7 separate regions of the Homo sapiens genome follow, and regions 2, 3, 4, 5, 6 and 7 are each linked to region 1. The links are contacts of gene promoters, found by promoter capture Hi-C in human tissues and cell types (Jung and others, 2019). All regions are on one chromosome and are shown on one strand. Each heading gives the region's core, a stretch centred on a gene start or on the middle of the fragment in contact. The rest is flanking DNA. Distances are from core to core; before and after follow the strand shown. Region 1 holds the start of GGACT (gamma-glutamylamine cyclotransferase). Region 2 overlaps NALCN-AS1 (NALCN antisense RNA 1). Region 3 overlaps PCCA (propionyl-CoA carboxylase subunit alpha). Region 4 overlaps NALCN-AS1 (NALCN antisense RNA 1). Region 5 holds the start of LINC00411 (long intergenic non-protein coding RNA 411). Region 6 overlaps NALCN-AS1 (NALCN antisense RNA 1). Region 7 overlaps NALCN-AS1 (NALCN antisense RNA 1).

The links. The method cuts DNA at HindIII sites, captures the fragments that hold promoters and counts their contacts. A contact is called where the count stands out against the background at its distance.
Region 2: a fragment that was not itself captured here is called in contact with the fragment with the promoter of GGACT in region 1 in 2 of the 25 tissues and cell types used here (dorsolateral prefrontal cortex and lymphoblastoid cells).
Region 3: a contact is called between a fragment that was not itself captured here and the fragment with the promoter of GGACT in region 1, in 1 of the 25 tissues and cell types used here (dorsolateral prefrontal cortex).
Region 4: a contact is called between a fragment that was not itself captured here and the fragment with the promoter of GGACT in region 1, in 2 of the 25 tissues and cell types used here (dorsolateral prefrontal cortex and lymphoblastoid cells).
Region 5: a contact is called between a fragment that was not itself captured here and the fragment with the promoter of GGACT in region 1, in 1 of the 25 tissues and cell types used here (hippocampus).
Region 6: a contact is called between a fragment that was not itself captured here and the fragment with the promoter of GGACT in region 1, in 1 of the 25 tissues and cell types used here (thymus).
Region 7: a fragment that was not itself captured here is called in contact with the fragment with the promoter of GGACT in region 1 in 1 of the 25 tissues and cell types used here (bladder).

The regions. Positions count from the first base shown.
Region 1 is chr13:100,586,343-100,590,689 of GRCh38, forward strand. It overlaps GGACT (gamma-glutamylamine cyclotransferase), which reads right to left and starts at 2,447. Exons shown (of 3, transcript NM_001195087.2): 1 at 2,399-2,447. RefSeq lists a silencer at 2,080-2,599. The HindIII fragment of the contact is 6,002 bases long and covers 866-4,347 here.
Region 2 is chr13:101,009,948-101,014,294 of GRCh38, forward strand. It overlaps NALCN-AS1 (NALCN antisense RNA 1), which reads left to right. Exons shown (of 8, transcript NR_047687.1): 3 at 3,271-3,403. Among named protein-coding and RNA genes, the nearest start is that of LINC00411, 68 kb to the left of the region's middle. The HindIII fragment of the contact is 3,999 bases long and covers 321-4,319 here.
Region 3 is chr13:100,167,801-100,172,147 of GRCh38, forward strand. All of the region lies in intron 6 of PCCA (propionyl-CoA carboxylase subunit alpha), which reads left to right. Among named protein-coding and RNA genes, the nearest start is that of PCCA, 81 kb to the left of the region's middle. The HindIII fragment of the contact is 6,001 bases long and covers 1-4,347 here.
Region 4 is chr13:100,988,365-100,992,711 of GRCh38, forward strand. The region is part of intron 2 of NALCN-AS1 (NALCN antisense RNA 1); the gene reads left to right. Among named protein-coding and RNA genes, the nearest start is that of LINC00411, 46 kb to the left of the region's middle. The HindIII fragment of the contact is 5,950 bases long and covers 1-4,347 here.
Region 5 is chr13:100,940,587-100,944,933 of GRCh38, forward strand. The region is part of intron 2 of NALCN-AS1 (NALCN antisense RNA 1); the gene reads left to right. LINC00411 (long intergenic non-protein coding RNA 411) reads right to left here and starts at 3,778. Exons shown (of 3, transcript NR_047015.1): 1 at 3,589-3,778; 2 at 416-546. The HindIII fragment of the contact is 5,107 bases long and covers 1-4,347 here.
Region 6 is chr13:100,897,307-100,901,653 of GRCh38, forward strand. The region is part of intron 2 of NALCN-AS1 (NALCN antisense RNA 1); the gene reads left to right. Among named protein-coding and RNA genes, the nearest start is that of LINC00411, 45 kb to the right of the region's middle. The HindIII fragment of the contact is 5,371 bases long and covers 1-4,347 here.
Region 7 is chr13:100,876,335-100,880,681 of GRCh38, forward strand. All of the region lies in intron 2 of NALCN-AS1 (NALCN antisense RNA 1), which reads left to right. Among named protein-coding and RNA genes, the nearest start is that of LINC00411, 66 kb to the right of the region's middle. The HindIII fragment of the contact is 3,148 bases long and covers 624-3,771 here.

The sequences.
Region 1 (4,347 bases), core at 1,197-3,696:
GAAATTCATTCTACTTTGCTGGGCTTTTATGTTTGCTTAAAATTTTCCCAATAAGCAAAACAAACAAACAAACAAAATCAGAACCTTGATCAAAATGTAGAGGTTATCACTGGAGAGCCTTGCTTTCCAGGCACCCCCACCCCCGACCCCACCCCTCCTCTCGCGGAGTCCAGCCTCAGCACGCCAGTTGTTCACCTTTGTCTGAACACACTGTCATTTTCAGCTTCTTATTTTTGCTCATGGTGTTGGCCACCCTTTCCATTCCTGTGCCTATAAAAATCTGTTCTCTGCTTAAGGTCTCCCCAACTGTGACCTTCTCCTGGCCCTCCAGTGAGCACTCACCTCTCAGTTCCAACAGCACACTGCCTCTGGTTTCATTCTTCGCTACGTTCTAGCTATTTACCAGGTCTGTTACCTCATGATGCCATACAATCCCAGAGACTTCCAATAGCTAAGTCTTTTCTGTAAATCCATTTAAGGGGGTATCACGATGCCTTTTACGGAGCAAGCTCCGCAGTCCAGGGGCAGGTCCTCACGGCCTAAACACGGCTGCCTTATCCTGAGTAGTTTTACTGACAATAGAGCTTCAACTGAAGAATGAATTCCTGTTCAGCAGGACACTGGGCAGTCATGTTTAATTGAGAACTCTTAAAATTCCTAATAGAGTTTGCCTAGATGGAGGATGTTCTAAAGAGGGCTGCGAATATTTCGTGTTTCTGTCCTCTTACTGTCACCTTTCCTTGGGTCCTGTCCCCTCTTCAAGCATGGCTGCACTACACTTCCACACCAGCCTGCTGGTGTCCTAATCACTGGTAAGGGCCCTGGCTCGAGGTGGATACAAAGCCTCCCAATGACTTCACTTCAAGAATGGACACAGATTGGAAATCTTACTAGTAAAGAGAGAAATGAACAGATCATTTTAAAATCCCTCTTCTATTCTGCTTACTGCTACCTACTATCCAGATCACCACAAACAACCACCCTCTCCTAACTAGTAGTAGTTAGGGCCTGGTTAGTAAAATCAACTAGCCCAAAGTATTTCCGTACAAAAATCCACCAATTAGAAATTAATTTAACTTTGCAAACTCAGCTTTTACAATACGAATCTCTGCTAGAACACAGTGGTCTGCTTATTCAGGGAAGTCTGGCTTCTTCTGGGAATAGTTTCAGGAAAACAAGGCATTTTGGGAAAATACGGGCAAACTGCAGGTGCTCTTCATCTGAGCATTTCAATAAATTGAATGAGGCCAGGGAAAAGTCTTCACTTACAGGTAAATGTACATAAGGACACCTACGTGTGTGTAAGACCTACACTTTAAATAGGTCACCTTTAGTTTTTCATTAATCATTTCTCCTGGGACATTTAGCAAAACGAATAACTTGCTTTTAAAAAAGGCCACAAATCCCGGGTGCAGTGGCTCATGCCTGTAATCCCAACATTTTGGGAGGCCAAGGCGGGCGGATCACGGGGTCAGGAGTTCGAGACCAGCCTGGCCAACATGGTGAAACCCTGTCTCTACTAAAAACACAAAAATAAGCTGGGCGTGATAGCAGGCGCCTGTAATCCCAGCTACCCGGGAGACTGAGGCAGGAGAATCGCTTGAACCCGGAAGGCAGAGGTTGCAGTGAGCCGAGATCGCGCCACTGCACTCCAGCCTGGGCAACAGGGCAAGACTTCATCCCAAACAATAAAAAGGGCCAGAAATCGACTGCATTTTCTTATCACTTAAATATTAAATCAACTAAGCGTGGAGTTAAGAAGCTGTGTTCAAAAAACACTTAAGTCTGCTTTTGAGCTTGTGGCGTTGTCCTTGGCCCACAGAGTAAAACAGCAATGATAACCATAATTAATAATCAAGGCAGTAAATTTCTTCAAAATTTCAGAAGTTTCACTAATGGCTCCAAAGAAACCTTAGATCAGAAATTCACAAGTGCCAGGAGACGTTTTTAGATTTCTTTTGCAGCTTCTAGTCTCCTTACAAACAGGAAATCTTTAAAATGAAAAACAATTTCTGAGAAGTGTTAGCCCGGTTCAGCTGAGGTCCTCTGAAAGCCAGCGTGTGGGCTGTCACGCTTCCTTTACAGGGAAGCAGCGCCCGTGCGTGAGGCGGTTCCTGGCTTTTACCGCCCTCTGCCCGTTCTGGCAATCGCGCCCGTGGCCCCCGCGCGGGGCAATGGAGGACGCGTTTCGGGGTCCACCGTCCCCTCCCTCCGGCTGGCCTCGCCGGCCGGCGGCGCCCCAGGCCTCCTCCCTCACCCGCGGGGACGCCGAGTGCTGCGGCCTCGACCCGGACGCCGCGCAGGGAGCGACGCCCCAGGTTCCCGCGGGCGCCAGGACACCCCGCCTGGGGGGCGGAGCAGGCGCAGCCCCGACCCCCGCCCGGGCTCAGCGCCTCACCTGCCGGCAGCCGGGGCTGTCGGGGAGGGCAGGGCCAGGGCGGAAATGCAGGGCCGGGCCCGCGCCTCTGCTCCCAGGCCGCCCCCGGCGGCGCCCCCTGCAGGCGGAACGCGAGGCCCGCCAGCCCCTGCGGCGCCCTCGCACACACGTGGCCGCTCGCACAACTGGCCGCCTAACAGCCAGACCCACCCACGCCGATGCCCGCCGGAGACGCCCCGCCGCAGACACAGCGCAACCAGCTTCACACACCTGGGGACGCCCCACAGAAGTCACATCCACCCTAACACACCTGGGCACTCAGGCTCAAGCCCCGACTGCATGGTGGACCCTGACACACCTGGGCCACACCCCACAAAACAGACTCACAGACGACTCCACAAGCTTGGGGACACGCCACATCAAATGGACACACATGCACACACAAATGAACCCAAGCGCAGACACACTTGGGGATGCCAACCATGTGTGTATCTATCACATCACACACCACCAAGGCCCCCCAGCTGGGCATGCACACAGCCCTGATACCGAGTCCAGACCGCCATCTAGTCACACTGCCCACTTACTTACCAATACTCTTAAAATGAAACTGTGGCCGAAGGAGACAATGGAAGGATGACATCACCTCTTCCCTAGCTCCAGGACTAATTTAAGCCCCAGAAATTATAGGACTGAGAACCAAAATCGAAAGAGAACATTTTCCCTAGAGACAATGGGTTAAAGCAATGCCACTTGGGGGCCAGGTGGTAGGAATGGTACAGCTATGGAGAGAGTGACACTTCTGTCTCTCCGAAAGACACAAATCTGTGTTTATCAGATTAGCAATAATCCCCCTTAATCATTTCCTGCCCTTTCTACTTTCTCATGGATGTGGACTGATTGAAACCTTTATATAAACTGGTTTTTATCCAAACGTTTCCAACAATGCAGATGTAATTGTATTTTGAACAGATGTACAATTCCAAAAGAAATCTAAACCATCAGGTACATAAGTCGTTGGTTTTCACAGTTTTTTCTTGTCTTGGACACTTCATAATTAAATTGAAATGTATTAAAAAACCTTGTCTAGCTCATATTAATATTTTTTTTTTTTTTTTTTTTTTTTTTGAGACGGAGTCTCGCTCTGTCGCCTAGGCTGGAGTGCAGTGGCGGGATCTGGTTCACTGCAAGCTCCGCCTCCCGGGTTCACGCCATTCTCCTGCCTCAGCCTCCCAAGTAGCTGGGACTACAGGCGCCCGCCACTACGCCCGGCTAATTTTTTGTATGTTTAGTAGAGACGGGGTTTCACCATTTTAGCCAGGATGGTCTCGATCTCCTGACCTCGTGATCCGCCTGCCTCGGCCTCCCAAAGTGCTGGGATTACAGGCGTGAGCCACCGCGCCCGGCCTCATATTAATATTTTTAAAGACAGCAGTAATTCTTAACTTTTTGAAGCGAAAGAATGATTCCACTTTCATCTCTTTTTTGAGGGGGGAAAATCATGTCAGCAAAGGAAAGTGAGACAAATAGATAAATAATTCTTCTGATAAAGGAAAATTAAAGATGACGCAGACTAGACGAATTTTTTGTTTGTTTTGAGATGGGTTCTCACTCTGTCACCTAGGTTGGAGTACAGTAGCATGTTATTGGCTCATTGCAACCCCTGTTTCCCAGGCTCGAGTGATCCTCCCACCTCAGCCTTCTGAGTAGCTGGGACCTCAGGCACCCACCATCACGCCCGGCTAGTTTCTTGTATTTTTTGGTAGAGACAGGATTTCACCATGTTGCCCAGGGTGGTCTTGAACTCCTGAGCTCAGGCGATCCACCCGCCTTGGCCTCCCAAAGCGATGGGATTACAGGTATGAGCCACAGTGCCTAGCCAAGACAAGTGTTAAGTTGCATCCCAGATAAGGCTGGGGAAGCCCAATCTAACATAGAATAGGCTCTGTGGGATGAAGCCTTCAGTTTAA
Region 2 (4,347 bases), core at 1,070-3,569, 420 kb after region 1:
CTACAATATGCTCTTTCACATTATATGTTACATTTTACATCAACCTAAGATTAATACTCTATTTCCAAGCTTTATGCAGAATCAGACAATTTGTCATTCTTTGCACTCTGTTGTGGGAGATGAAGAAAAAAAAACCCAACTATTGTTTTGTACAAAAATAGCATTAAAAATTTTAAATTCTATTTTCCTTATTAGTTCAAGACAATGTATCCACTTTTCTTTTTTATTGGATTTGGAATTGTTATTGTGTAATACATTTAAATTCCCCAGTGTTTTATTAGAACAGCCTATTAAATTATGTGTTTGGAAGAGATGCATTCATCTTTTTACATATGAATGTTATGTAAAACTGTGGTCATGCATTTCATTTGCTTCCCACAGTGTGACTTGCGGAGGTACAGGACATCTAGGAGCATTTAGAAACCAGTTATAGGCTGGTAGATCAACTCAGAGAACAAAACAGTTGATAACTTGTTGCTTTTTATTAAGGATAATAAATATAAATGTATGTTTCTAAAGCATTAAAGACGTATATCTTCATAGCTACTATATATCAAGGGGCTGCAGGAAGCTTACATAGAATTTGAAATGACAAATATGGGCTGTGCATAGAATTTGAAATGAGAAATATTGGCCATTTTGGGGGTTGTCTCTCAGGAAGGGAGGCCGAGAGGTGGGTGTGTGGTGCTTCATCATAGAGTGAGAGGAGTTCGGGAAGCCCCAGTGTGGAGTTATGGCATTTTAGCCCTGCTTTAAGTTAAGCTGAGCTAAACATGATACGATAAAATGATCTGCAGCTTTTCTCATCAAGGCGATTCTTCAGTGATCTCAGGAAACTGGCTCACCTGGACAGAATCTGGGCATAAATTACTATAACAGAAAGGCCAAAAAGAGAAGCTTGCGAAGGAGCAGGGGAAGTAAGAAAGAGGGAGATACTCATTTCTCAACAGAATTGAGGAGCCATATCTCTAGTGAGTGGCATATATTGAATTTAATAATGTTTGTCTGCTGGAGCAGACATCAACATAGGGTGTAAAATTTGGTGTGACATCGATCTTGGACTTGGTGTATATATATACCATTTATATATATATGATATATATATATACCATTTATATATATATGACATATATATATATACCATTTATATATATGAGATATATATATACCATTTATATATGAGAGATATATATACCATTTATATATATGAGATATATATACCATTTATATATATATGAGATATATATACCATTTATATATATGAGATATATATATACCATTTATATATATGAGATATATACCATTTATATATATACCATTTATATATGAGATATATATATATCATTTATATATGAGATATATATATACCATTTATATATATATGAGATATGTATACACCATTTATATATATATGAGATATGTATACACCATTTATATATTATATATATACCATTTATATATATGATATATATCCATTTATATATGATATATATATCCATTTATATATATATGATATATATACCATTTATATATATGATATATATATCATATATATATCAATCACAAACTCCACCCTTCCCCACAAACACCTCCCAAACTAAACCCAAACCCAAAGTTGATTCTATTCAGCAAGTCTTCTCTAAAATCTGCGGCCTCTAGTTTGATCAGGCCAAAGAAATATTCAACTGTTTGATTCTTTTAAAGTCCTATTGTGTCTGAAGTTTCTTTTACCTTCTTAAAATTCTTATCTTGATCACACTTCTCTTTGCATCTGTGTCTTTTTCCACAGTTGACTTTCCAATTTATTAAAAAACACAAAAAAGCAAAAAACAAACCACCACTAGCAACAACACCCCCCGAAATCCCCCCAAACCCTGAGGTCTATATATTTCCCAAATGTGCCTTGGCTTTTCTTTTTGCTTAATTTAAATTTGTCCTATGTCTCAACATGATGTACAACTCTATGTGTGTGTGGCTACTTTTATACAGAATTGTCATCTGGCAGATTTTTTTTTTTCACAGTGTTAAGTTTTGGAATTGCTTTTTCAACTGCTTCTCTGCTCTGTAGTCTCTTGACTTGAAGTCCTGAATTCTTCTGCTGGCATTTCACATGTAGTGATGTTTGTTGTCTCTGAAATATTATGTCTGGAGTGAGCATCCCTTCAAAAATATATAGAAATATGTTTTTTAAGGTCCATGCCTAATAAAACTGCAGCTGTCTATCTGCTGAGGGAAGCAAGGAACTGCAGCTCTTGCACAGGAATAAAGTACTAGAAATATCATTACCCAGAAATTCAAGAGCTTCAGGTGCAGAATATACCAAAATAATTTCTGTTACCTGCATTCAAAATGTGGTTATGCTGACAAAACCTTCAGACAATGTGTATATGGCAAAGAATCTCTCTGAGAACCAGAGAGAAAAATCAGGAACGTTGGGGCTGTATGCACATCTAAATTCATAAAGATATTTTGGAATGACATTAACTCTGCTTGCGAGTTTCACTGGAGAACCACTGCATCACCCTCCAAAAGGAATGTATTAATATTTAGTCATAATAATGAATCTAACAAGGAAGCAATCATGTAATTGAACAATAACAGCTGTGTGTTTCCCAGAGAAGATTCAAATCAAACAACAAGAACAGAGCTTCTGTAATTTTCTCTATGCTCTTTTCTGAAGAAGAAAGGATGTTAATGTTGTATTGTTTCTTTCTTGTTTTTTGTTTTTTTTGAGACGGAGTCTCGCTCTGTTCCCCAGGCTGGAGTGCAGTGGCGTGATCTCAGCTCACTGCAAGCTCCGCCTACCGGGTTCATGCCATTCTCCTGCCTCAGCCTCCCGAGTAGCTGGGAATACAGACGCCCGCCACCATGCCTGACTAATTTTTAGTATTTTTAGTAGAGACAGAGTTTCACCGTGTTAGCCAAGATGGTCTCGATCTCCTGACCTCGTGATCCGCCTGCCTCGGCCTCCCAAAGTGCTGGGATTACAGTATTGTTTCTTTCTTTAAGTTCTTTGATATTGAGGTCAAGACTATGCTTCCACATTGGTTGACCCTCCTACCTGTTAAAAATATAAGATCTGGCTGTATCCAAAACACATGCCATTTCCAAAGCGGATTTCATATTGTCTCTTCAGGACCAACTAGGTGGCAGGAAGCTAGGACCCTCATGATGTCTTGGAACATTCAAAGTCCTGTTTCTCAGTGGGTGGAAGAGAATTAGTGAAACAACAACCACAAAAGGCTGCTGACCTTTGTTTTCCTTTGCAAGCTGACTTCTCAAGCTCTGGGGATGCCTCAGTGATCTCTGATGTGGAATTAGTGGAGGCTGGCCGTTGCTCACCTCTACACAGCCTGCTGGTCGTTAGCGAGCAGGAGTTCTGATGTTCCTCTCATCTTGGATGGTAAGAAATTTATGAAAATGCTAAGTCCTGAGGATTAATAGAGGAAATGAGGACTAAATATACAAAATAGTCCAGAAGGTGGCAGGTGGAACACAGCAATAATATATGATGTTAGTCATCAGTCATTAGTGCCACAGGGATCCTAGGCGATGGCTGGGAAATGGCTTTTGCAGGCTGAGATGGTGGTAGCGCTTCACCCTCTAAGGCAAGTGCCTATGATTCAATGGGTGAACTCACTGCCACCCCAGCAGGGTGGGGTTGGGGTTGGCTTGGTGAGAAGGGAGATGTCATCTTGCCCAAGGAGGCTTATCCCTTGTGAAAGTCTGGAACAACACACAAAACACCAGGAGGAACTGTTTCGGAGTGCTGTCTTGAATGCAAGCAGGCAGCCTCCATTTAGATCTCACTGATTCTTCTAGGATATTACAAAGCACTTTCTTACCCCAAATCCTTCAGTGCCACCCTGCCACTAAATACAAAGAAGAAGCTCTGCTTCCCACCGTGCAGAGGAGCCACAGGGATTGCATGGTCCCCATGACTGCCTCTTTGGCCCAGGGAAAGGGCCCAATCAGACAGCACCCCAGATCTTAAGAGAAGAACTTCCAGTCAAAACAACAGGGCACCCCCGTGTGCTGGAAGGTCCAACTCTCTCCAGTCCCAAGAGTGTTAAGCATCTGGCTAAGGCTTTGCTAAATTTCCCATAAGAGCTGCATTGTTTTCTTCTGTCTGTTAGACCTAGGAAGTTTTCTGGGTGTGGACGTAGGGCTTTTGCAAGTTTCAAAGCTTCCAGGGGATTAGAAACCATCATTCCCAAGCATTTACAAGAAAATCTTTTGTCTCCACTGCTTGATATCGAAAAACAAGGGTCACTCTTCTTTTCCCCTAAGGAGGGAAATGGGAACACCCCGCTGACCATCTCCTTCTGCCTCAGGCACTTTCATGGA
Region 3 (4,347 bases), core at 647-3,146, 420 kb before region 1:
GCAGAAAAAGTAATGGGACATACATGTGCGATCTCGGCTCTCTGCAAGCTCTGCCTCCCGGGTTCATGCCATTCTCCTGCCTCAGCCTCCTGAGTAGCTGGGATTATAGGCGCCCACCACCACAACTGGCTAGATAATGAACTCTTAAAAATACTTTGTCCACACCCCCTTTCATTTACTCCCATGTATTACTAATCCTGCTGAGGCCGTCTTGGTGTGACCTCCTTCCTCACCACTGACCCCCTCTTTTCTCTCTCAGAACTTCCTTACTTTAACAATCCAGTTGAACACATATGCCACCTTATTCAGCAGTTGAATCTCAACCTGAGAGATTCTAGTGTTCATTCTTCAGTTCCACACATAACCATCGTGAGTAAGAGAGGCTCATTCCCATAGAAGGATGAGGTTTAAGATTGCTCCAGTCATTAACAGTATACAAGATGTCAGATAGCGTTTTACTGGGTCTAAGATAAATTAGGCTGTAACCAAGAATATTTATATATCAAACCAGCCTCTCCACACATCCCAATTATAAATTCTGGACAAAATAGAAAAAGCTACATAATACCTATGGGTACCAGAGAGCAGCCACAATTAGACAGAAATAGGAAGGCGACTACCCTTGGAAGGAGGAAATGGCATGGGGGCAGTTTCCTTTTTTGGCCTTTTTTGAACAGTTCCTGGAATGAATTCTGGAGTGTTCCATGTATGCATGGGTCAGATTCCAAGCACTCCAGCTGAGGCTAAAAGAACCAAAGAGAATTATTAGCTGTTACTTATGCTAGTATTGGGGGAAAATATTCAAGTTCTACCTAGGTGACTCTTGAACCCCTTTTGAAATGTGACAACGTAGCAGATGCTGTTGATGCTGCTGTCCACCCTTTCTGCCCGGTTGTTAGCGTCACCTTAGGTGACCATCCCTTCCCTGTGAGTCTCAGTGGTAAATTCTGACTAGTGAAATCCTGACCAGGATTCATTCTCTTCCTTACCAATGACCAGTTTATGGGAGGCTCATGGTCCAGTTTGATTCCTGGCAAGTGAGGGGACCTTTCAAGAAAAGGTTTCTTTTCATTGTGTGAAATAAGCCTTTTTAAAATTATTTTAAGCCATTGTAAACTGAGGGTTTTTATTGTTGTTGGGATTTTTGTTTTGTTATTTTAATTTTGGCCAAAACTACCGGGTTGAAAGACCAGTGTTTTACAGACTGACATTCTATTGAATCTTAAAATAGAATATAGCTTCTGATTCTTGTGTTAAGCTTTCTGAAGTAATTTAGAAACAAAACCCTCTATGGATTACATGGCAAAAAAGGCATGTTTCAACCATAAAGTAAATTGTTTTAAAAATTTCCCTTAATTTGGCCAGGCGCAGTGGCTCACGCTTGTAATCCCAGCACTTTCGGAGGCCGAGGTGGGCGGATCACCTGAGGTCAGCAGTTTGAGACCAACCTGGCCAACATGGTGAAACCCCGTCTCTACTAATAATACAAAAATTAGCCAGGTTGGTGGCGGGTGCCTGTAATCCCAGCTACTCAGGAAGCTGAGGTAGGAGAATCGCTGGAACCCAGGAGGCAGAGGTTGCAGTGAGCTGAGATCGTGCCACTACACTCCAGCCTGGGCGACAGAGCGAGACTGTCTCAAAAAAAAAAAAAAAAATCCCTTGATTTATGTAAGGATTAGTCACTTTTGTATGCAAGTAGAAGGCTGAACTCATGCTTTTTATTTTTTATTTTATTATTATTTTTTGAGACGGAGTCTTGCTCTGTTGCCCAGGCTAGGGTGCAGTGGCACGATCTTGGCTCACTGCAATCTCCGTCTCCCAGGTTCAAGTGATTCTCCTGCCTCAGGCTCCTGAGTAGCTGGAACTACAGGTGAGCGCCACCATGCCTGGCTAATTTCTGTATTTTTTTTTTTTTTTGAGATGGAGTTTCGCTCTTGTTGCCCAGCTGGAGTGCAATGGTGCGATCTCAGTTCGCTACAGACTCCGCCTCCCAGGTTCAAGCAATTCTCCTGCCTCAGCCTCCTGAGTAGCTGGGATTACAGATGCCTACCACCTTGCCTGGCTAATTTTTGTATTTTTAGTAGAGACGGAGTTTCACCTTGTTGACCAGGCTGGTCTCAAACTGCTGACCTCAGGTGATCCTCCCACCTCAGCCTCCGGAAGTGCTGGGATTATAGGCATGAGCCACCACACCCAGCCTGAACTCATGCTTTTTGATTCTTCTGTATCACTCAGGCTTTCTGGAGGTGCTTATTAACTCTTTGCTAGATTAGATAAGTTGCTGAATTCAAATTTAGAATTCTGGAAATAAATGTAGAAGGGATGCTTTGAGAAGCATCCTTGTGCTTTCATTGTGTTATGCTATTTTAAACTTACGGTAACTTCGTGATGTCTTAAAATTTATTTTCATTGATTTATTTGTATGTGACTCCTAAGCTTAGAATTCAGTTGGAAAGATTTTTGTTTTTGTTCTAGTGAAGGAAGTACATTGCTCGAGGATTTTTTTGGGTTAACTGAAGTAATGCTAGTTATCTCTGTTACATGTAGTTAATGATTCTTGTTGCCCCCAGATTTGTTCTAAACTTAAACTTTTAAATGCATGCTTTCTAAAACAGGCAAAGAAGCAGAAATAATGAAATGATCACTGGGGCTTTGTTTCTGTACTGGTCCTTATTTAAGGATATTACAATGTTCCTAAGTTACCATTTTGACTCATAATATGTGATATGCTAATGTTCCAAGCACAGAGTATTCTTTTCTGTATGTTTCCACTTCCCAACCTACCTATGGTGTAGCGCCTGTCTGTACCACTACGTGTGTGCATGTGTACATGTTCCTAGCTTTTTATTCAGTCCTTTATGTGCTAGTTGATTGTTGAGTGCAGATAAAAATAATGTGTTGTATTTCTTAACCACAATATTTGATTTATAAGGAAATATTTTGATAACAGCATTTATAGTAATATATGCTCTTACTGATTAGAATGCCACAATTGATAGAAAATATATTGGATGTAAATTAGTTACATATTTACATAATCTATACACAAGTAACAGCATATTTTGTCAGCATAGCGTACAGTAGCCATAAAATAAGAGTGGGTGATACAATAGAGCATTGGTTCCCAGTATGTTCTGTGGTACCTGGGGACTCTTGAGACCCTTTCAGACACTCTGAAGTAAACAATTTTCCATAATAGTTTTTCCTGCTCTCATTCTCTGAGGATTGTGCAGTAGAGTTTTCCATGTAACAGTAGAGTTATATGATATATGTTATCACAGCAGATTGAATGCAGGAACCAGATTTGAGAATCCAGCTGTCTTAAGCCACATGTTAAAGAGATTTGTGAAAATGTAAAACATTTCTACTCTAATGAATTTGTCATAAAAATGTTACTTCTAATTGTTAACATTAAATGGGCTATTCTTTTGAAATACATTTTTAAAAATTTCTTAATTTTAACATGGTAAATATTGATATATACAACATGTATAAGCCAAAGCTCCTTGAGATTGTCAATATTTAAAACTGTAAAGCCCAGAAAATTTGATAGGCACTGTCCTGAAAGGTGACTGGGTAGCCTCTTGAGATAGGGTGATGACAGTCTTCTCTGAGAGTGTGGCCTTTAAGCTGAGATTCTAGACAGAATGAGCATGCCTCCTCTGACTACTATGCCCCACTCCACTTCCACATTCTTTTTTAGCCTTAGTATAATTACTTCCATGTCAAGTCAAGGACTTTTACTCATTCATTTCTGAATTCCTGTTGCTTACCACTTTACTTACTAGTCATTAATAATTCTTTACGGCCAGACGCAGTGGCCTACGCCTGTAATCCTAGCAGTTCGGGAGGCTGAAGCCAGAGGATCACTTGAGTCCAGGAGTTCAAGACCAGCCTGGGCACATAGGAAAACCCCATCTCTACAAATAATTTAAAAATTAGCTGGGTGTGGCTGGGCGCGGTGGCTCACGCCTGTAATCTCAGCACTTTGGGAAGCCAAGGTGGACAGATCACGAGGTCAGGAGATGGAGACCATCCTGGCTAACACGGTGAAACCCTGTCTCTACTACAAGTACAAAAAATTAGCCGGGCGTGGTGGCAGGCACCTGTAGTCCCAGCTACTCGGGAGGCTGAGGCAGGAGAATGGCGTGAACACAGGAGGCAGAGCTTGCAGTGAGCGGAGTTCTCGCCACTGCATTCCAGCTTGGGTGACAGAGTGAGACTCTGTCTCAAAAAAAAAAAAAAAAAATATTAGCTGGGTGTGTTGGCATGCGCCTCTGGTCCCAGCTGCTTGGGAAGCTGAGGTGGGAGGATTGCTTGAGCCCAGGAGATGGAGGCTGCAGTGAG
Region 4 (4,347 bases), core at 707-3,206, 400 kb after region 1:
AAGCCAGCCTGCATTTCTGAACTCACATCGTGGCAAAAGCAACAAACACTTTTAAGACAAAAGATAAAGGGTAAACTACTTATGGGAAACACTTTTCCAAAAATACCTAGATTCTAGGTGGCAGGGTTAGAATTGTTCTCTTGTCGTTTGGCTAACATAAGGGACTCCCAAGACACGAGCAGAGAGGGTGGAGATGGTTATGTGTCAGTTGGAGCGAGGTGGGAGCAGGAACCTCCTATTTAGGGCACAAATCTTTACACAGGGATGACATTTGAAAGATTTGGTCATGGACCTGGGTCCACTTCCTTTGCTTTTCAGAAAAGGTCCCAAGATTAGCAGCAAAAGTAATCCAGGTGAAAATAATCCATGAATTTGAACACTTTGTTGGGTGTAGTAGGGAGATTCTGACAGGTGCCTGATGACCCTATGTCCTGGTACCCACACCTTTGCTTAATCTCCTCCCTTCAAGTGGGGATTCACTTTTAATGTGACTCACTTTTAATGAACAGAATACAGCAGAAGTGCTGGGATGTCATTTCTGGATGATGTTGTGCAAGACTGTGACTTCTATCTGGGACACACTCCTTTTCAAATCCTCACTTGCCCACTCTGGTGAAGCCACTGCCACATCGCCAGCTGCCCTACAGAGAGGCCACGTGGCAAGATGCTGAGGGCAGCTTCTGGCTGATAGCTGTAAGGAACAGAGGGTCTCAGCCCAACAGCTTGCAAAGAACTGAATTCTGGCAACAACCTTGTGAGTGAGTGTGGAAGTGGCTCCTATTGAGCCTTGAGATGGCTACAATCTACTGTCACTGTGATTCAGTAAATGCAAGTCCTAAACCATGCCCAGCTTCCTGAATTTCAGGATATGTGAGATGAAAGTGTTGTTGCTTAGGAGTATTTGTTCCACAGCAATAAATAACTAATACACTAAGGTATTATTATTTTACTGTACCTTCTCTGCTTTGTGCACCTATTTGTCTGCTGAGTCCTATAAAGATTTATTCTTCAAAGTTTTCATTTCTTCCCTCCTTTCCGGTTTTATAGACACAGTCTATTCCAAGAAAAGCTTTAAACTTCCTGGGAAATTATAGGGAAATAAATTAGATGTCCTGACGTCTGCAGAATGTCCTCTAGACAGTGTCCTCATTATGCTGCCCTTGGTTCTTCCAGTTCATCAAATCTCATTTAGCTGTGCACCAATTAGACTGCCTTTGGCTGGAAGTGACATAAAGCTGAAAAATAGTGGATTATATAAGCCAATAGCTTATTTTTCTCACACAACAAAAAGTCTGGAGTTGAGTTGTCAAGGATGTTATTCTGTCTGAGTTGATAAACTTTGTTAAAGGTCAGAGAGTATTTTAGGCTTTGTGGGCTGTACCATCTCTGCTGCAATTACTAAATTCTGCCTTTAGGGCACAAAAGCAGCACAGATCATATGTAAACAAATGACTGCGTACCAATAAAACTTTATTTATGGACAATGAAATACAAATTTCATGTTATTTTTATGTCATAAAATATTATACATTTTAAAAATTTCCTGTAACCATTAAAACATGTAAAAGCTATTCCTTTTGTAGGCTGTATAAAAACAGGCAAGCTGGATTTGCTGGCCTTTGTATTAGCTTCCTTCCACCTTCCTACATTCTCATTTTCAGTGCATGGCTTGGTCTTCATGGGCACATTGTGACTGCTGCTGCTCCATTCACTGTGTTGGCATTTCAGGCAAAGAGAAAGGGGAGGGTGAAAGAAAAAGGAGTGTCGCCTAGATCAGATCAACAAAAGCCTTCCAGAAAACTTCAGCTTATGTCTCAATAGGCAGAACTATGTTAACGTTTTTAGCTGGGCTTATAGCAAACCTGATCAAATTTGGGGTTCTATTAGTAAGAATAGAAAGAATGGATATTGGATAACATCATTCAGATTGTAAGTGGTGAAAATGGAATTTGAACCTCTAGACCAGTGATTCTCAATGGGATGATCAACCCTTACCCTTCCCAGGGGGCATTTGGCCACATCTGGAGATATGTTTGGTCATCACAACTGGTGTGTGTGGGTGCTACTGGCATCTCATGGGTAGATGCCAGGGATACTGCTAAACATCTGCAATACAGAATTAACCAGCACAAAAGTCAATAGTGCTGAGCTTTGGACAACACAGGAGACTCTGTCTAAAAAAAAAAAAAAAAAATAAGAGCCAAGCTTGAAGAACGTTTCTTAGTCACTCTGCTATTCTCAACTATTTCTTTATCCAGCTCTCAGCTCTTTCTTTATTCAGTTCCCATATATTTTCTACACATCCGACAAAGATAATTTAAAGACAAACTGATACTTTTCCAGGTTTCCTCAGGTCTTGTATGCCATTCTGTAATAACTTTAGGAGTAAGGAAAGAATCTAAGAATTAACTACTTGGTTATTCTTGGCTAAGAATTAATTACTTGGTTTTTTAAAGAAGTTAGTTGTGGAATGAATACTGTTTAAAACATAAATGTAATATAATAATAAAAAAACCCAGAATCTCTCCCCACTTTGATCCAGAGAAAGCAAATTTCTGTGAATGCATGGTGAAGTTGAAAAGGAATGTTAATGTGCCAATTCAGTGAAATACCAACATCTCTGGGAGGTGGCCTCTGTGGGTTGTGACAGTACTAAGGAAGAGAGAAGACAGTGCAGATGCTGACTGGCTTTTCTTAAAGCCTAAAGAACTGGCATTATGTGAAAGAATTAGCAACAAATGGAAAAGACAGGGTGGAGGTGGAGGTATAAGCCCAGAAGAGTATTCTTGAATTTTTTTGGCTAGAAATATACCTCCAAATACACCTGCCGGATACTATAAAAATCTGAACATCACCAAGGAATGTAGTCACCAGATTGTCTAAAGTCAATGCTAAAGAAAAAGTCTTAAAGGCAGCTAGAGAAAAAGGTCAGATTATGTACAAAGGGAACCCCATCGGGCTAACAGCAGACTTCTCAGCAGAAACCCTATAAGCCAGAAGAGATTGAGGACCTATTTTCAGCATCTTTAAGGAAAAAAAAAAAAGAAACTCCAAACAAGAATTTCATACCCAACCAAACTAAGTTTCATAAGCAAAAGAGAAATAAAATCTTTCTCAGAAAAACAATCACTAAGGGAATTTACTACCATTAGACCAGCCTTGCAAGAGATCCTTAAGGCAATTCTAAACATGGAGATGAAGGAACAACATAATCCACAGACCCTTTGAAGCAACACACAAAAGAAACTATAAAACAGCTAACTAGCAACTTCATGATAAGATCAAAGCCTCACATATCAATATTAACCTTGAATGTAAATGGTCTTAATGCCCATTTAAAATGTACAGAGTGGCAAGTTGTGTTAAAAAAACACCACCACCACCACCCATTCATCTGCTGTATTTAAGAAACCCATCTCACACATAACAACACTCATAGACTCAAGGCTGGAGAAAGATCATGCAAACAGAAAACACAAAAGAGCAGGGGTTGTTATTCTTATATCAGGTAAAATAGACTTTAACAACAGTTAGAAGGAGGACAAATAATGGCACTACAGCATGATAAAGGGTTCAATCCAACAAGATGACATAAGTATTGTAAATATATACACATCCAACATTGGAGCACCCAAGTTCATAAAACAAGTACTTCTAGATCTATAAGAAGACTTAGCCACACAATAATAGTGAGGGACTTGAACACCCTCTGACAGTGTTAGATCATTGAGGCAAACAACTAACAAAGAAATTCTGGACTTAAATTTGACACTTGACCAATTGAACCTAATAGACATCTACAGAACACTCTATCCATCAACCACAGAATACATATTATCCTTATCTGCACAGGGAACATAATCTGATTGACCACATGCTCAGTCGTAAAACAAGTCTCAGTAAATTCAAAAAATTGAAATCATATCAACCATACATTCAGACCATGGTGGAATAAAAATACAAATAAGATCGGGCACGGTGGCTCACGCCTGTAATCCCAGCACTTTGGGAGGCCAAGGCAGGTGGATCACGAGGTCAGGAGATTGAGACCATCCTGGCTAACATGGTGAAACCACGTCTCTACTAAAAATACAAAAAAATTAGCCAGGTGTGATGGCGGACACCTGTAGTCCCAGCTACTCGGGAGGCTGAGGCAGGAGAATGGCGTGAACCTGGGAGGCAGAGCTTGCAGTGAGCCGAGATCGCACCACTGCACTCCAGCCTGGGCAACAGAGCGAGACTCCATCTCAAATAAATAAGTAAATGAATAACAAGAAGATCTCTCAAAACCACACAATTACATAGAAATTAAACAACCTGCTCTTGAATGACTTTTGGGTAAACAGT
Region 5 (4,347 bases), core at 927-3,426, 350 kb after region 1:
CTGGCTTATGGGAACAAGAATGAGAACCTCGGGATTCTACACTTCATCCTAATTCCTTGGATTTTTAAGCTGTGTTTGTGCTGAGCTGGGTGCATGCTGTGTTTCTGTAGTCGATTTTTCCTCATCAGGGAGTCTCTCTTGCATACATCTTTCCTGAACCTGGTACTGACTGATTCCCCTGATTTTGAGTGTATTCTCCTAACAAAGGCAAGCAGTGCACATTGGCACAGCCGCTTGGTATTTTTCCTAGAATGCTAGAAGGAAGCAGACATTCATTTGCTTTTCGCCAGTCTCTCTTTGTCTAAATTGTCCCATTTGGCTCAGCCCGTTGGCTTTAGTCATTAGAAGGGGGATGTAGGAAACTGTTCCTCTTGGTTTATGAGCTTAAGCCCAAGTACATCAACATGTGCCTTACCAGGACAGAGATTTACATAAATATTCCTGGGCTATCAGAGTTCTGTGAAGAGTGTTTCTGCATTCCAGATGTAGGGCACGCATGTCCAAATCCCATGTGGAGGTCACAGTTCACTAACTCTGGAGGGCCACCTAGAGAAAAGAAGTGTTTCAGGATAATCACTCTGCAAACTGTAGACAAGAGACCCAGAAACCACCATTCTTTTGGTGCTGTTTAGAATTTGGACAAAGAGCCACAGACACATTTTTGAGGTGAGGAGAACTGCGTTTTCCTTTTCATAATGTAAAAAAACCCATCTTTAGCATTTTTGGAATAAGCAATATTCATCTCTCAATTAGTGTTAACAGCTAATCAGGGTGCAGCAGGATAGTAGAGCTTTCCTCGAACAGCAGGCAGCTTGTTTTATTTTTTCAATGCAGCTTAAAGATTATTTGAAAAATCTCCTTCAGAGACCAGTGTGCGGGGAGCCACCTACCCCAGTCAGAATTTAAAATGATCCATAATACAATATTAATGATTGATGCGGAAGCTCACAGTTTGGGGCTGGGGTTTAATTAGATAAGCATTGCAGCTGTTTTCGGGTGGAAGCAACTTGATAGGACGTGGAGCTGTTATGTGACTTCCCATCTACAGGGTATCTATTGAAGCGGAAACAGAAGCAAGCTACTAGGAATTATGATGATTACATTTTTTTTTTCAGTGCTGAAATGAGTAGAAGTCTGATTGTAGGGGAGGAAAAAGCATTTTGTAATTAAAAAGGTAGGTTTGGATCCTCTATTCATTTGCTCATGAACTTAACATTCATAGAAAAATCAGCTAGTTGCAGGCAAGCAAAGATCTGGCAAGCTATATGTAAAGAAGTTACATGTGTGGCTCTTTTGGCCTGTACCACTTTGCACGTACAAAATCCTTTTGCCTCAAACCCATCCTTCCCTTTGCAAACATCAGGTCATGTCAGGCTGCCTAATGTCTTATGCATGCAGACAAATACCTCTAATGGGCTGCTTTGGAATTGCTTTCTCACCCTGAAAACTTGAGAAGAATTTAAACTGGGGTCCATTTCACCGTATGTCACTTTCTAAGTCAAAGGGACTTGTCAGCATTTGATTACGATAAGAGGAGTTTCCTGTGTCTCAAGCTGGAAATGGCTAGAACGCACTGTGTAGTCTGTTTACAACTAAGCTTCAGCCTGTATGAATGACCTCTAGTCATGAGAGCCATCTCATGAGGGCAGTTTATTGAGGCTTATTGTAAATTAAATGCCCCAGATTTCCAGGATTTATTCCACCACAATGAGGCTTGGAACTCTGTACATTTAAAGTGGTTTTGTTAAATTGATTTTTAAATTATCTCTACCTAATAAAAAGGAAGCCTGTCTAGGTGTTTTGTGTTGTAAAATAATTATACTAGCCATCTGGTTATCTATGAGATAAATTTTTAATTGTTTATTGTCAATAACTACAAAATGTGAAGTCACATGAGAATGCTAAGTGTATTATTTTTATTGTGTAGATGAAGCTTACTGAGTCTTCTCCTGATTGTTCTAAATCAATTTCTGCCTGACTCTTTGTGAATAGGGGAGAAATGAATCTTTTGGAAGGTGCATTAACTCTCTCAGGTTATTGTCATTCTTTGCACTGAAAAGGGACTTAAGCACTGCTTTCTCCCTTCCGGTTAGAGGTGTTGGAAGGTGAAGAACTAGGGATTAGAAAGCTTGAAAAACGGAGCCCTGGTTTGTCCATTTTCTAGCTGTGTGATCTTGTTCAGTTTGCTAAACTTTGAGACTCTCCTCATTTGCAAAATCAAAACAATAGCACCTGCCCTGCCTATCTCACAGAGTAATTCTGAAGATCTAGTTGGATGACACATGTCTTCAGGTTGAGACCTGAAGCTAGGCATGTCTAATATTCTGCACACAAACTGTAATGAATTAATGTAATAAATCAACAGGGGCTTCAGTGAGGCAGTTCCCTGCAGTCCATGCTACTGAGAATAGATGATTCTGTCTCTCTTAAACTTTCCATTGATCAAGGACGATGGTGAAATATTTGGATTTCTAAAGCTTCTTCTAATAAGTAATAACTCTTACCACCTGCCTATTTTGAGAGGTGTGGAGAGAGTGTAGGGTTATTCAGGCAGATATATAGATGAAGAAAATTAGATTGTGCATGACCCAATGAATTACAAGTCAGACCTTGGACCCAGGACTTCTGATTCCAAGGTGAGTGTTACCTCCTTTACAGCGGATTATCTCTGCAGACAGTATGTAAAATTAATGGAAATGAGGAGATGGGCTATGAGGGAAATGTGTGATCAATTCTGGAATTGCAGAGTGCAGATGTCAACAAAGCAGGTAATTCATTAAAGAAGATCAATAGGCTGAACAGCATGGTTGCCATGAGATGGACCGCAGATCACTATTTTGTGTATACAAGAGATTTGGCTATATTGTGGATTTAAAAAAAAGTAAAACAGGCTGAGTGCAGTGCCTCGCACCTATAATCCCAGCAACTTGGGAGGCCAGGGCAGGTGGATCACTTGAAGTCAGGAGTTTGAGACCAGCCTGGCCAACATGGCGAAACCCTGTCTCTACAATAAAAAAATTAGCCGGATGTTGTGGTGTACACCTGTAATCCCAGCTACTTGGGAGGCTGAGGCAGGAGAATCTCGTGAACCCAGGAGGTGAAGGTTGAAGTGAGCCGAGATCACGCCACTATACTCCATCCTGGACAACAGAGTGAGACTCTGCCTCAAAAAAATAAATAAATAAAACATACTCCTTTTAGTTGCATGCAATAATGATTGTTGATCATTTGCAAGTGATGCTTCCATACTTGTTCCCTTGATAAAGTAATTGATCAACCTATGGTCCCTTCATGCCTTTTCTAATTGATGCTGATGGAAAAGCTGACAACAATAAGTGATAGGGTTATTGTAATACTCCATCAAGATCTTTGAGGATAGAGATGGATTATAGTGCTTTAAACATCACTATAGATCCTGAAGGCAATCAATAAACGCTACTAAGGATGGGAAAGCCTGGTGGACTGCTGAGTAAGAGGTAGATGTGAATATTTTGGATAAAGGGAATGTACAGAATGTAGGAAATGCTAATACATAGTTAATGCATAGGCAATAGACACAGGGCTTGTAATGTATAGACAAGCACTTACCTTGTAGAATAATGGTAATTTTGATGAAGGATAAACAGCAATTACTTTTAATTTATTGGTATCTATTGGTCTTCCAATCCAGTGAATAGTCTTTCAGAGTTCAAATTTGGGCTGCATTATCCATCCCAAGGTTAAATTTTCCACTGAATAGCAGTGACCCCAAATCAAGCTACTTTTCACATGACATAGTCACGCACTCGGCTGAACACTCCTGCAGCACTTTTCACATGCCTCTGTTAAGCAGTTGAGGCCACAGCTCTGATTGAGATGCCTCAGAGAAAGGTTATTAAGTGAGAAGAGTAGATGGTCTAACATCAAGCATTAAGGCACCCCAACACTTATAGGCTGTGTAAGTGAGGATTTGAGAGGTAGAGCCAATGAGTAGCTGGGGACAGGAAGACAATTAGGAGAGGGTGACATCACTATAGAAATCCAAGGAAGAAAGTGTTTCACAAAGAAGGGCGTGGCCAACAGGGCTGAGTTGTCGGGGAAGATGAGGGCTGAAAAAGGTCAGTTGGCTCAAGTAATATGGAGACCACTAGAGAACTTGGCAAGGGCTGTTTTAGTGAAATGGAGTGAGCAGAAATCATATCTCTGTGGGTTGAGAAGTGAGTGAGGGTTGTGTAAAGTAAACAGAAAGTACATACAACGATCTCACTTGCAGTTATTTTAGAATCCATGATGCCATTTTTCCATGTATTCCCCTAGAGTCACAGTTAAGACAAGCTGTGAAGGTTTCCATCCAGAAAGGCCTCCCAT
Region 6 (4,347 bases), core at 730-3,229, 310 kb after region 1:
ACCCAAAGTGGCTGTTTTTGTTAAGATTCTCCAGGAAAACAGAACCAATAAGGGAGAGAGAAAGAGAGAGAGAGAGATTTATGATGAGTTGGCTCATGTGATCCTGGAGTCTGGCAAGTCAAAAGCTTGTCCAGTGGACTGCCAGGCTGAAGACCTGGGAAGAGCTGATGTTGCACTTCAAGTCTGAAGGCTATTGGGCGGGAGAATTCTCTTTTACTTGGAGTAGGTCAGCTTTTTGCTCTTTTTAAGCCTTCAGGATGAGGCCTACTCACATTATGGAGGGCAATCTGCTTTGCTTAGTCCACTGATTAAAATGTTAGTCTCCCCAAAAATCACCCTCACAGAAACATCCAGAATAATGTTTGACCACATCTTTGGGCAGCCAGGCCCAGCCAGGTGGACATAAAATTAGCCATCACAGTGGTCCTTTTGGATTTCCTTGACTGAAGCCTATCTGTTTATCTTCCCCCTTTATCCTCTGTATTAGATACTGAACACTGGAAAAGAATTGTCTTCCTTGTACCAGGGTGGTGGTTGTTCACTCTCCATCAGCTCAATCCTGGTTTCCTTGCCTTTCTAACTCATAATTCAGAAGTCCTAGCATGCTCATGTTTGGGAATGTCCTAATGACTGGTAAAAATAAAAAATGAAAATGGAGTCTTGTTTCTACATAGGGAGGCCAAGTCTTAGCTATCAGTTAATTACCCTCTTAATTAACTGCACCATCAGTGCAGGAGGCTGAGTATATTGGAATGTAGGTAAACTTTGGATCAGACAGACTTGGGTCTAAATACTGACCCAGCTTTGTGCCCTTAGCAAGTCACCCAGCCTCTCTTAGCTACCATTTCCTTACCCTTAGATGTGGATAAGGATACTAAATCTGCAGGATTTTTAAAAGATTAAATGAGACAATGAAGGTATGCAAGCTAGCTGGCACATAGGAAATTCATAGCAAGTGTATTTACACATCATTATTATTATTGCCATACCAATAATTACTACTGAAAAGAACAAAGATATATAATATCACTTTCTAAATAGGATTTTTAGTAGGGTTTCTAAATAACTCCAGCTAGAGAGCAGGAAACCATGGAAGATTTTCATAAAGAATCCAAATGTTAAAAAACTTAGTCAAATTTATAATTCTTCCTGGAAGGAAAATAGCTTTTTTATTTTATGGGAGAAAAAACCCTTGAAATTTACTTATTGAAACATGTCATCAAGTTCTGAGGAGAACATGAAGAAAGATTACAAAATATAGGACATATACTAGGACATCAAATGATTAATTCTGACTAAACTCAACAGATGTTCAGCAAATCAGTGATTCATTTAAAAGATGGCCCTGTTGTGTTGTCACTAGTGCTCACACAGGCTCAATAAACTAGTCACAGGAAAAACACTTAATGTGCCTAATTTGTCTTTGAGACACCATCGTGTCTAATAAGTACACAATGTCTGGGCTCTTAATTATAGGAATTTTTTTTTCCAGAAAGTAGACAGGTTGGTATAATCACTACTAAAGAAATATGAGACACAAAGAGGCATGGAAGCCTTATCAATCTGGCAGAAACATCTGGCAAGGATATGATGGAAGGAATGAGGTGATGGGGCCAAGTTCCCACAGCCTCATCACCTGCTTCAGGAGGAGAGAAACCACCCACTTGAGGATATTGTCATCCTTGCAGCTGAACCGAACAGTGTGATTTGGCCACTCGCAGTCAGATTATGTCAGCAAAGGAAGAAGGCACTGCTCTTTGGGAGTGTCAGACATTCCATGAATTAAGAATGAAATAGGAAATCATTAGGAAATCTTGATATGTCGTAATGTAATTGAAAACCTAATTTAGAGAGATGCTCGTTTTAATTTTGACTTGTCTTAGTAATTAAAGATAACATAGTTTACTGATATAACCAATATACCTCAATGTCAGAGTGCAATAAAATATCTATGTATAAAGAATAACAATAAAATGAACCCCTGTGAACCAGTACTTTAGAATTTTCTCTGTGTGACCTCTAGTCTGACAAAATCAGATTTACTGGCCCATTGCAATGAGGAAAACCACATGCTGAGAATCATAAGATGTCTCACCAAACAAAGGAAAAGATAGAAGTATTATAGGATTTGGGGGAAGGATGGAGTTTAGGCTCAAAGCAGCATCAGGTAACCCAAGGTCCTATTTCCTTGGAATCTACAAAGTTAAGATAGACATGGAAGGCTGAGTCCAGAAATCCTTTATCTGGTGCTCTGTAGCTGAGTTGTGAATCAAGAATGCTGCTCTGCGTCAAAGTGACTTAGATCCTCAGTCAAGAGCAGAATGTCTCATATTGATTTAATTTCAAACGGCAAAGCTTTTGATAGTCTATGATCTTAGAGAACAAAGTTTCTCTAAACTATGTGGTAAGTTCATTGGTGACAAAGAAAAATCAACCAAGGAAGAGGGATAGTGAATTCTGATGAAGGGGTTTCATTTTAAATAGGGTAGTCAGGGAATGTTTCATATATAAGTAAACCAAGGAATGACTCATGCAGATGCCATGGAGAAGAGCATTCTGGGCAGACAGAAGTGTGAAGGCTGAGGTGAGAGTGGGTCTTCAATGTTAGACGTTAGAGGCCTGAGGGTGTGGAATGGAGGGTAGGTGAGAAAACGCGGTAGGATACAAGGTTATCGCAGTAAGTAGAAGCCAGTTAATGCAGGATCTTGCAAATCATTGTGATAATTTTGGCTTTTACTTTGAATGAAAAGTGAAGTCATTGCAGGACTTGGAGCAGAGAAACACCAAGATCTAGCTTCCGTTCTGACAGGACCACTCTAGTTTCTGTGTTGACAGTAGACTCAATAAGGGTAGAGTAAAAAAAGCAGGGAGACCAGTTAGGAGGTTGCAACACTCACCCAGGTGAGAGAATCCAATGTCTTGGACCTGAGTAGGTGGCAGAAGAGGTGAAGACAAATGGTCAGATTCTGAATAAATGTTGAAGAACTGATAGGATTATGATGCTCTATGTCTATTCTCTTAGTGCTCACAGTAACTATTTTAATGTGCTTACTCAACTTATCAAAGTCTAAAGTTTATCACATGCTCACTGTATTCTGTAGTAATTAAAGATGTTAGAATACTTTAACTTCTTTTAAACTCTTTTAAGTCACATGTTATGACCGTCTACATTTTTATCGTCTATTCTATTCTCATATATATTAGATATTTTATTGAATACAATTGATGTTTGTTTATATTTATCTATATTTTCTTCATGATTATTTCTTCCATCTCAGATATTTAATCTAGTGTTATTTCTTCTCTGCCTAAAGTATATTCTTTATATTCTAAATATATCCCAAGTCATTTTGTTATTTCTTTCAATTTTAACAAATTTCAAAATAGTTGTAGATTTGTAAAACAGTTACAGAGAGTACAGAGAATTCCCATATACACTACATGGTGTCCTCGTTTTTAACATCTTATATTACTATGGTACATTTGTAACAATTAATGAGTCACTATCAATACATTATTATTAACTAAAGTTCATACATCCTTCAAATTTCTTTAGTTTACCTTTAATGGCCTTTTTCTGTTCACAGATTTCATCTAGAATGCAATATTACATTCAGCTGTCATATCTTTGTAGACTCCTCTGGACTGACAGTTTCTTATACTTTCCTTGTGCTTTAAGACCTTGAGACGTTTCAGGAATTTTGGTCAGATATTTTATAAAATATCCTTCAGTGGGAATTTGTCTGATATTTTTCTTATGATTAAACTGGGATTTTGGATGGAAGACCACAGAGATAAAGTGCATATTAGTGCATTTTATCAGCATATATTACCACTATCGATGTTAATCTTGATCACCTAGCTTAAGTAGTATTTGTCAGGTTTCTCTGCTATAAAGTAACTCTTTTTCTTCCTTTCCATATTGTGCCAGAGTGAGGAGTTATACTGCACCTCCTAGAAATGAGGATATGTACATAAATTATTTGAAATTAATCTCTATGGAAGATTTGTCTCTTTTACCCCATCTATATAAGTCTGGACTCATGGAGATTTATTTGATACTTTGGTTTTAGAATCCAATACTACATTATTTTGTTACTTACGTTGTTCAGCTGTAGCTGTTGATAGTTCTTTCAGGCTGGCTCTGATGTCCCTTTGACATGCCTCTGCACCGTCCCCCCCTACATCATTTTGGTTTCTTGAGCCCTTTCTTACCTTCTGGCACCATGAGATGCTCCAGGCTCCTCCTGTATATTGTCCTGCCCCAGTCCTAGAATCAGTTGTTTCTCTAAGGAACCATGGCTCCTTTTTATTGGAGAACGGAATTAGAAACCAAGACCTGGAACT
Region 7 (4,347 bases), core at 948-3,447, 290 kb after region 1:
TGTATCGTACCTCAACTGTGGGCCAGATTCACTGCTAGGTAAGTCTATGTTTACCTTCATAGGAAACTGACAAATTGTCTTCCCAAATGTCTGTGCCATTTTAAATTTCCACTAGCAATGAGTGAGAGTTCCTGTTGCTCCACATCCTCTCCAGCATTTGATGCTGTCAGATTTTCGGATGTGAGCCTTTCTACTAGATGTATACTAATATCTTCAAAGTTCTAGTCTAGCATAGGGCATGCTATTGTTGGAATAAATCAATGAATAATGAAATGGGACAAAAAAGAGTATTTTACTACTTATTCTTCGAGGTTCCTCTGTTACTGAAGCAGGCTGCATTTGGACAGGAATTACAATTAGAAAGGGATTGCAAGCTTAAATGCTTACAAAGGGAAACAGAGTGAGTGTAAGGGCAGGAGAGAATGGGAGGAACTGTGGCAATTTGGAGACCCCAAGATAATCAGTGAACCCAGTTTTGCCAGATTTTCCAAATTTTGAGGTTGAGCCATAAAAGCAGATTTATGGGAAATCTCCCAATTTGTCAATGTTAGTAATCAACTAAAAATTATGAAACACTGTGTGGGATAGACAATACCTGTTTGTAACTAGATTGGAATGGTGAGTTATTGGTTTTTAATCTGTACGTTTTTTAATCTCTTATGCCGTAGCATTCAAGCAATGCATCCTCTATAGCTTAAGAGTTTAGTTATTATCTGGCTATTATTTCTTATTGGACATTATTTTGATTATTTAAGATAATAAAAATGAGTTTGGGATATTGGGGTTAGAACCGATGAGAAGAGGAAAATCAATGTGAAGATTTCTGTGTTAGAGGAGAAGCTAGAAAATGTGGCTTTATGGCCCTTTAAAAGCTTACTTCAGGGAACTACAGTAGTTAATGGTTGATTATTGGAAACTTTGTAAGTGTGAGAACCCTGAGTTAGGAAGTGACCTGGATCAATCAGCTTCATCTTGGACTGTGGATGTTTAATTTAAGCCACTGCCTTAGGAATTTTGAGAATCTTTCTTTTTCCGTAGTGGGGTTTTATGAGGAAAAAGAATTGGACAGGCCACCAAAGTGGGACCGGCCATTTTAATGGCCATTTTTGTTTGTTGTCTTCCTAAACTTTTTTCCTCCTCATGATGTATCAAATGTGTTCATAATTTATGGGGAGAGAAGAAATTATGTATCATATGCAATTATCTGGTAAATATTTATGAATTCTCTGCTTTTTAATATGAGGGTGTGAAAATAACTTAAGTCCTGATTGCAAATTAGCAGTTACATAAGCCTGGAGAAGACAGCAAGAAACTCACGGTTCTAAAAAAACAGGTCTTTGTTTCTACACAGAAATGTTCCTGTTAAATTGTCTCTCCTTTTTTGACATGGTTGATTCCTCTGTTTCATTACTTTTCTAATAAACCCCAAAGCTGTGCTGCAGCAGAACCAAGATATGCTCTAACTGGGAATGACATGATACATGATACAACACGATACAAAATGCATAGTAAATAAATAAATAGTTCTGTGTACCACATGGAATGGACAACCAGTGAGAAAAACACCCCTTTCTAATATTACTTGAATTAAAAGGCTTCCCAGGCTGGTGAGCTGAGTTAGTGAGGGCCCCCTGAAGAGGCCATGTTCTGACTTTCCCAAGGGCCAGTTAATTTGGCTGAGTTCAGTAATCACTGCTTGTGTCTCTGGCTCTGCAAAGTCATTTGGAGAACATGTCTTCTTCATCATTAAAGAAACCAAATATCTGAACACTTGGGCATTGCTACTTCTGGCCAATCCACTTAAGAGTGCAAACCCTATTGATGTCTTTGGTCAATACTGTTATCTCCATACCCAAAGAAAACAGTCTATGGAGAGAACCCCACTTATCTGTGTGATAATGGCCTCCCTTGACCTTTAGAGCCTCAGCTTCCTTCTCAGGTGGTTAGCAGTTAGAATTTAGGGATGTCATGTCTGTCTGTGAAAAACTCTCAAAATGCGAAGGGCTGTACAAATCCCAGACAGCATGGTTGCCTATGGTTTTCACCTTATGGAAGATAATCTCTTGTCATGACAATAGCTTTAAATGGAAAATCTGCATTCTAGCTATTTCAGGAAGTGAGATTTTGGTCTCATTTGGGCTCAATACTATAAACAAGTGGAGGTGTTCAAAAGCTCCCTTTTAACAGAAATCTGTGTTTCTCTACTAATTATCCATTCCATAGTTGTTCAGATACAAGGCCCCAAGACAGCCGTGGTGGAGCCCCTGGCTCACTTTTGGGACTGTCCAATTGGCCCCACTCCAACACGCAAGCTGCACCTTCTGAGGCCTTTTCTACTGTGCTTCCAGCTAAAATTTGATTTAAAGAAAAAGCTTTGTTATTACAAAATTGTGTTTAGAAACCATTGAGAACATTCCAAACTATACCATGAAAATGCAGTGAGCAACAACCAGACTTCAGGAAACCCTACAGGATAAGTGGTCTGGTCACTTTGGCAGATATATTCCAAGGGGAAAAAGGGATGTCCCCATGTATTCTACCTGCTCTCCATCAATGCTTTCCTCTCTCTTCTGCAGAAATCAGTTATTTCCTCTCAAATGAATCTGTGCCATAACATACGGGCATGTTATTATTTTTCCTATCTTAAAAAAAATATTTCACCTGACTTGACTGAGGCTACCAAGGGCATCTCTTCTTTGCAACAAAACTCTTTCAAAGTATCATCTATAATTGCTACCAATTCCTCTCCTCTCCTTCTCTCTAGAAAATACTCCAAACAGGTTTTTGCCTCCATTGAAACTGTTCCTAGAAAAATCTAGTGGTTAATCTCCGAGCTCATTGTACTTGACCTATCAACAGAAATTGACATTCTTTCCTGGAAACACTGTTTGTCCCTGGCTTCCTGAACACATCTCAGCTGATTTTCCTGCAATCATTCTCACTTTTTTTCTCTCTCATTCTTTTAATTTTTTTCCTGGTTTCTCTTCCTCTTCTTGGCCTCTTACATGGTCTCTGCCCCAAGACTCAATTCTTGGAACTCTTCTCTTTGCCATCTAGTCTGCTTGCCCAGGAGAGTTCATCAAAGTTCCTGTCTAAATATTATCCCTATGTCGAGGACTCTGCCTCCCATCGATTGCAGTCCTTTCTCTATAACTGCACACTCTGTCTCACTGGGATGTGTAGTAGATATCTCAAATTTGAACATGACCTGCACGTGGCCCCCACATTTCCCACCCTGTCCTGCAGGAACCAGTTTCTGCTCTCGTGAATGGCACATCTGGTCCTCCGTGTTGCAGATTAAACACCTGCTGTTAACTTCATCTCCTCTCTTACGCTAACACCAATAATCTGGTTTTTAGCAAACCTTACTTTTGGCTCTACCTCCAAAATATATGCAGAATGTGGCCACTTCCCCACTCCTTGCAGCCACTCTGATCCAAGCCACCATTGGATTTGACTGGATTTTTCTAACAGCCTTTGCTTCTGCCGGTGCTTTCTATCATTGGATTCTCACCTCCACAGCCAGACTGAACCTGCTTAAACCCAGGTCAGGTTGCTTCTTTCCCCGATCAAAATCCTCCAGTGATTCCCAACCTAGTGCAAAACTAAGCTTCTCGGCTGGGTGCAGTGGCTCACACCTGTTGTCCCAGCACGGCCGAGGTGGGCAGATCAGAAGGACAAAAGATCGAGACCAGCCTGGCCAACATGGCGAAACCCCGTCTCTACTAAAAATACAAAAATTAGTTGGGTGTGGTGGCACGTGGCTGTAATCCCAGCTACTCAGGAGGCTGAGGCAGGAGAATCGCTTGAACCAGGGAGTCAGAGGTTGCAGTGAGCTGAGATTGCACCACTGCACTCCAGCCTGGCGACAGAGTGAGACTCTGTCTCAAAAACAAAAACAAAATAAAACAACAACAACAACAACACGCTAAGCTTCTCACTTTGACCCACACGGCCCTGGCAACATACTTTACTTCCCTGATGTCATCTCCCATGACATTCCATCTTGCTCAGTGGCTCCAGACATTTGCCTCCTGGCTCTTCTGCAAATATCTGCAGGTGAGCTTTACTTTCCTTAGTGCCTTGCTTCTCCTACCAGCATGTAAATTCCATGAGCTTATTGTTCCTACTCTGTGGAACCCCTGTTCCCAGGACAATGCTTCACACAGGGTGTGCAGGCATTGAATATTTGTTGAATGAACAAATAATTTTCAGTGTTGGAAAATATGTTTAAATATGCATGTTAAAAATTTTAAGGTAATTATTTAGAGAATAGAAGTAATAGAGGTAATAGCCAAGTAATCAGAGGAGAAAAATGGAATAAAGAAAACTTTGTAACAAGAAACA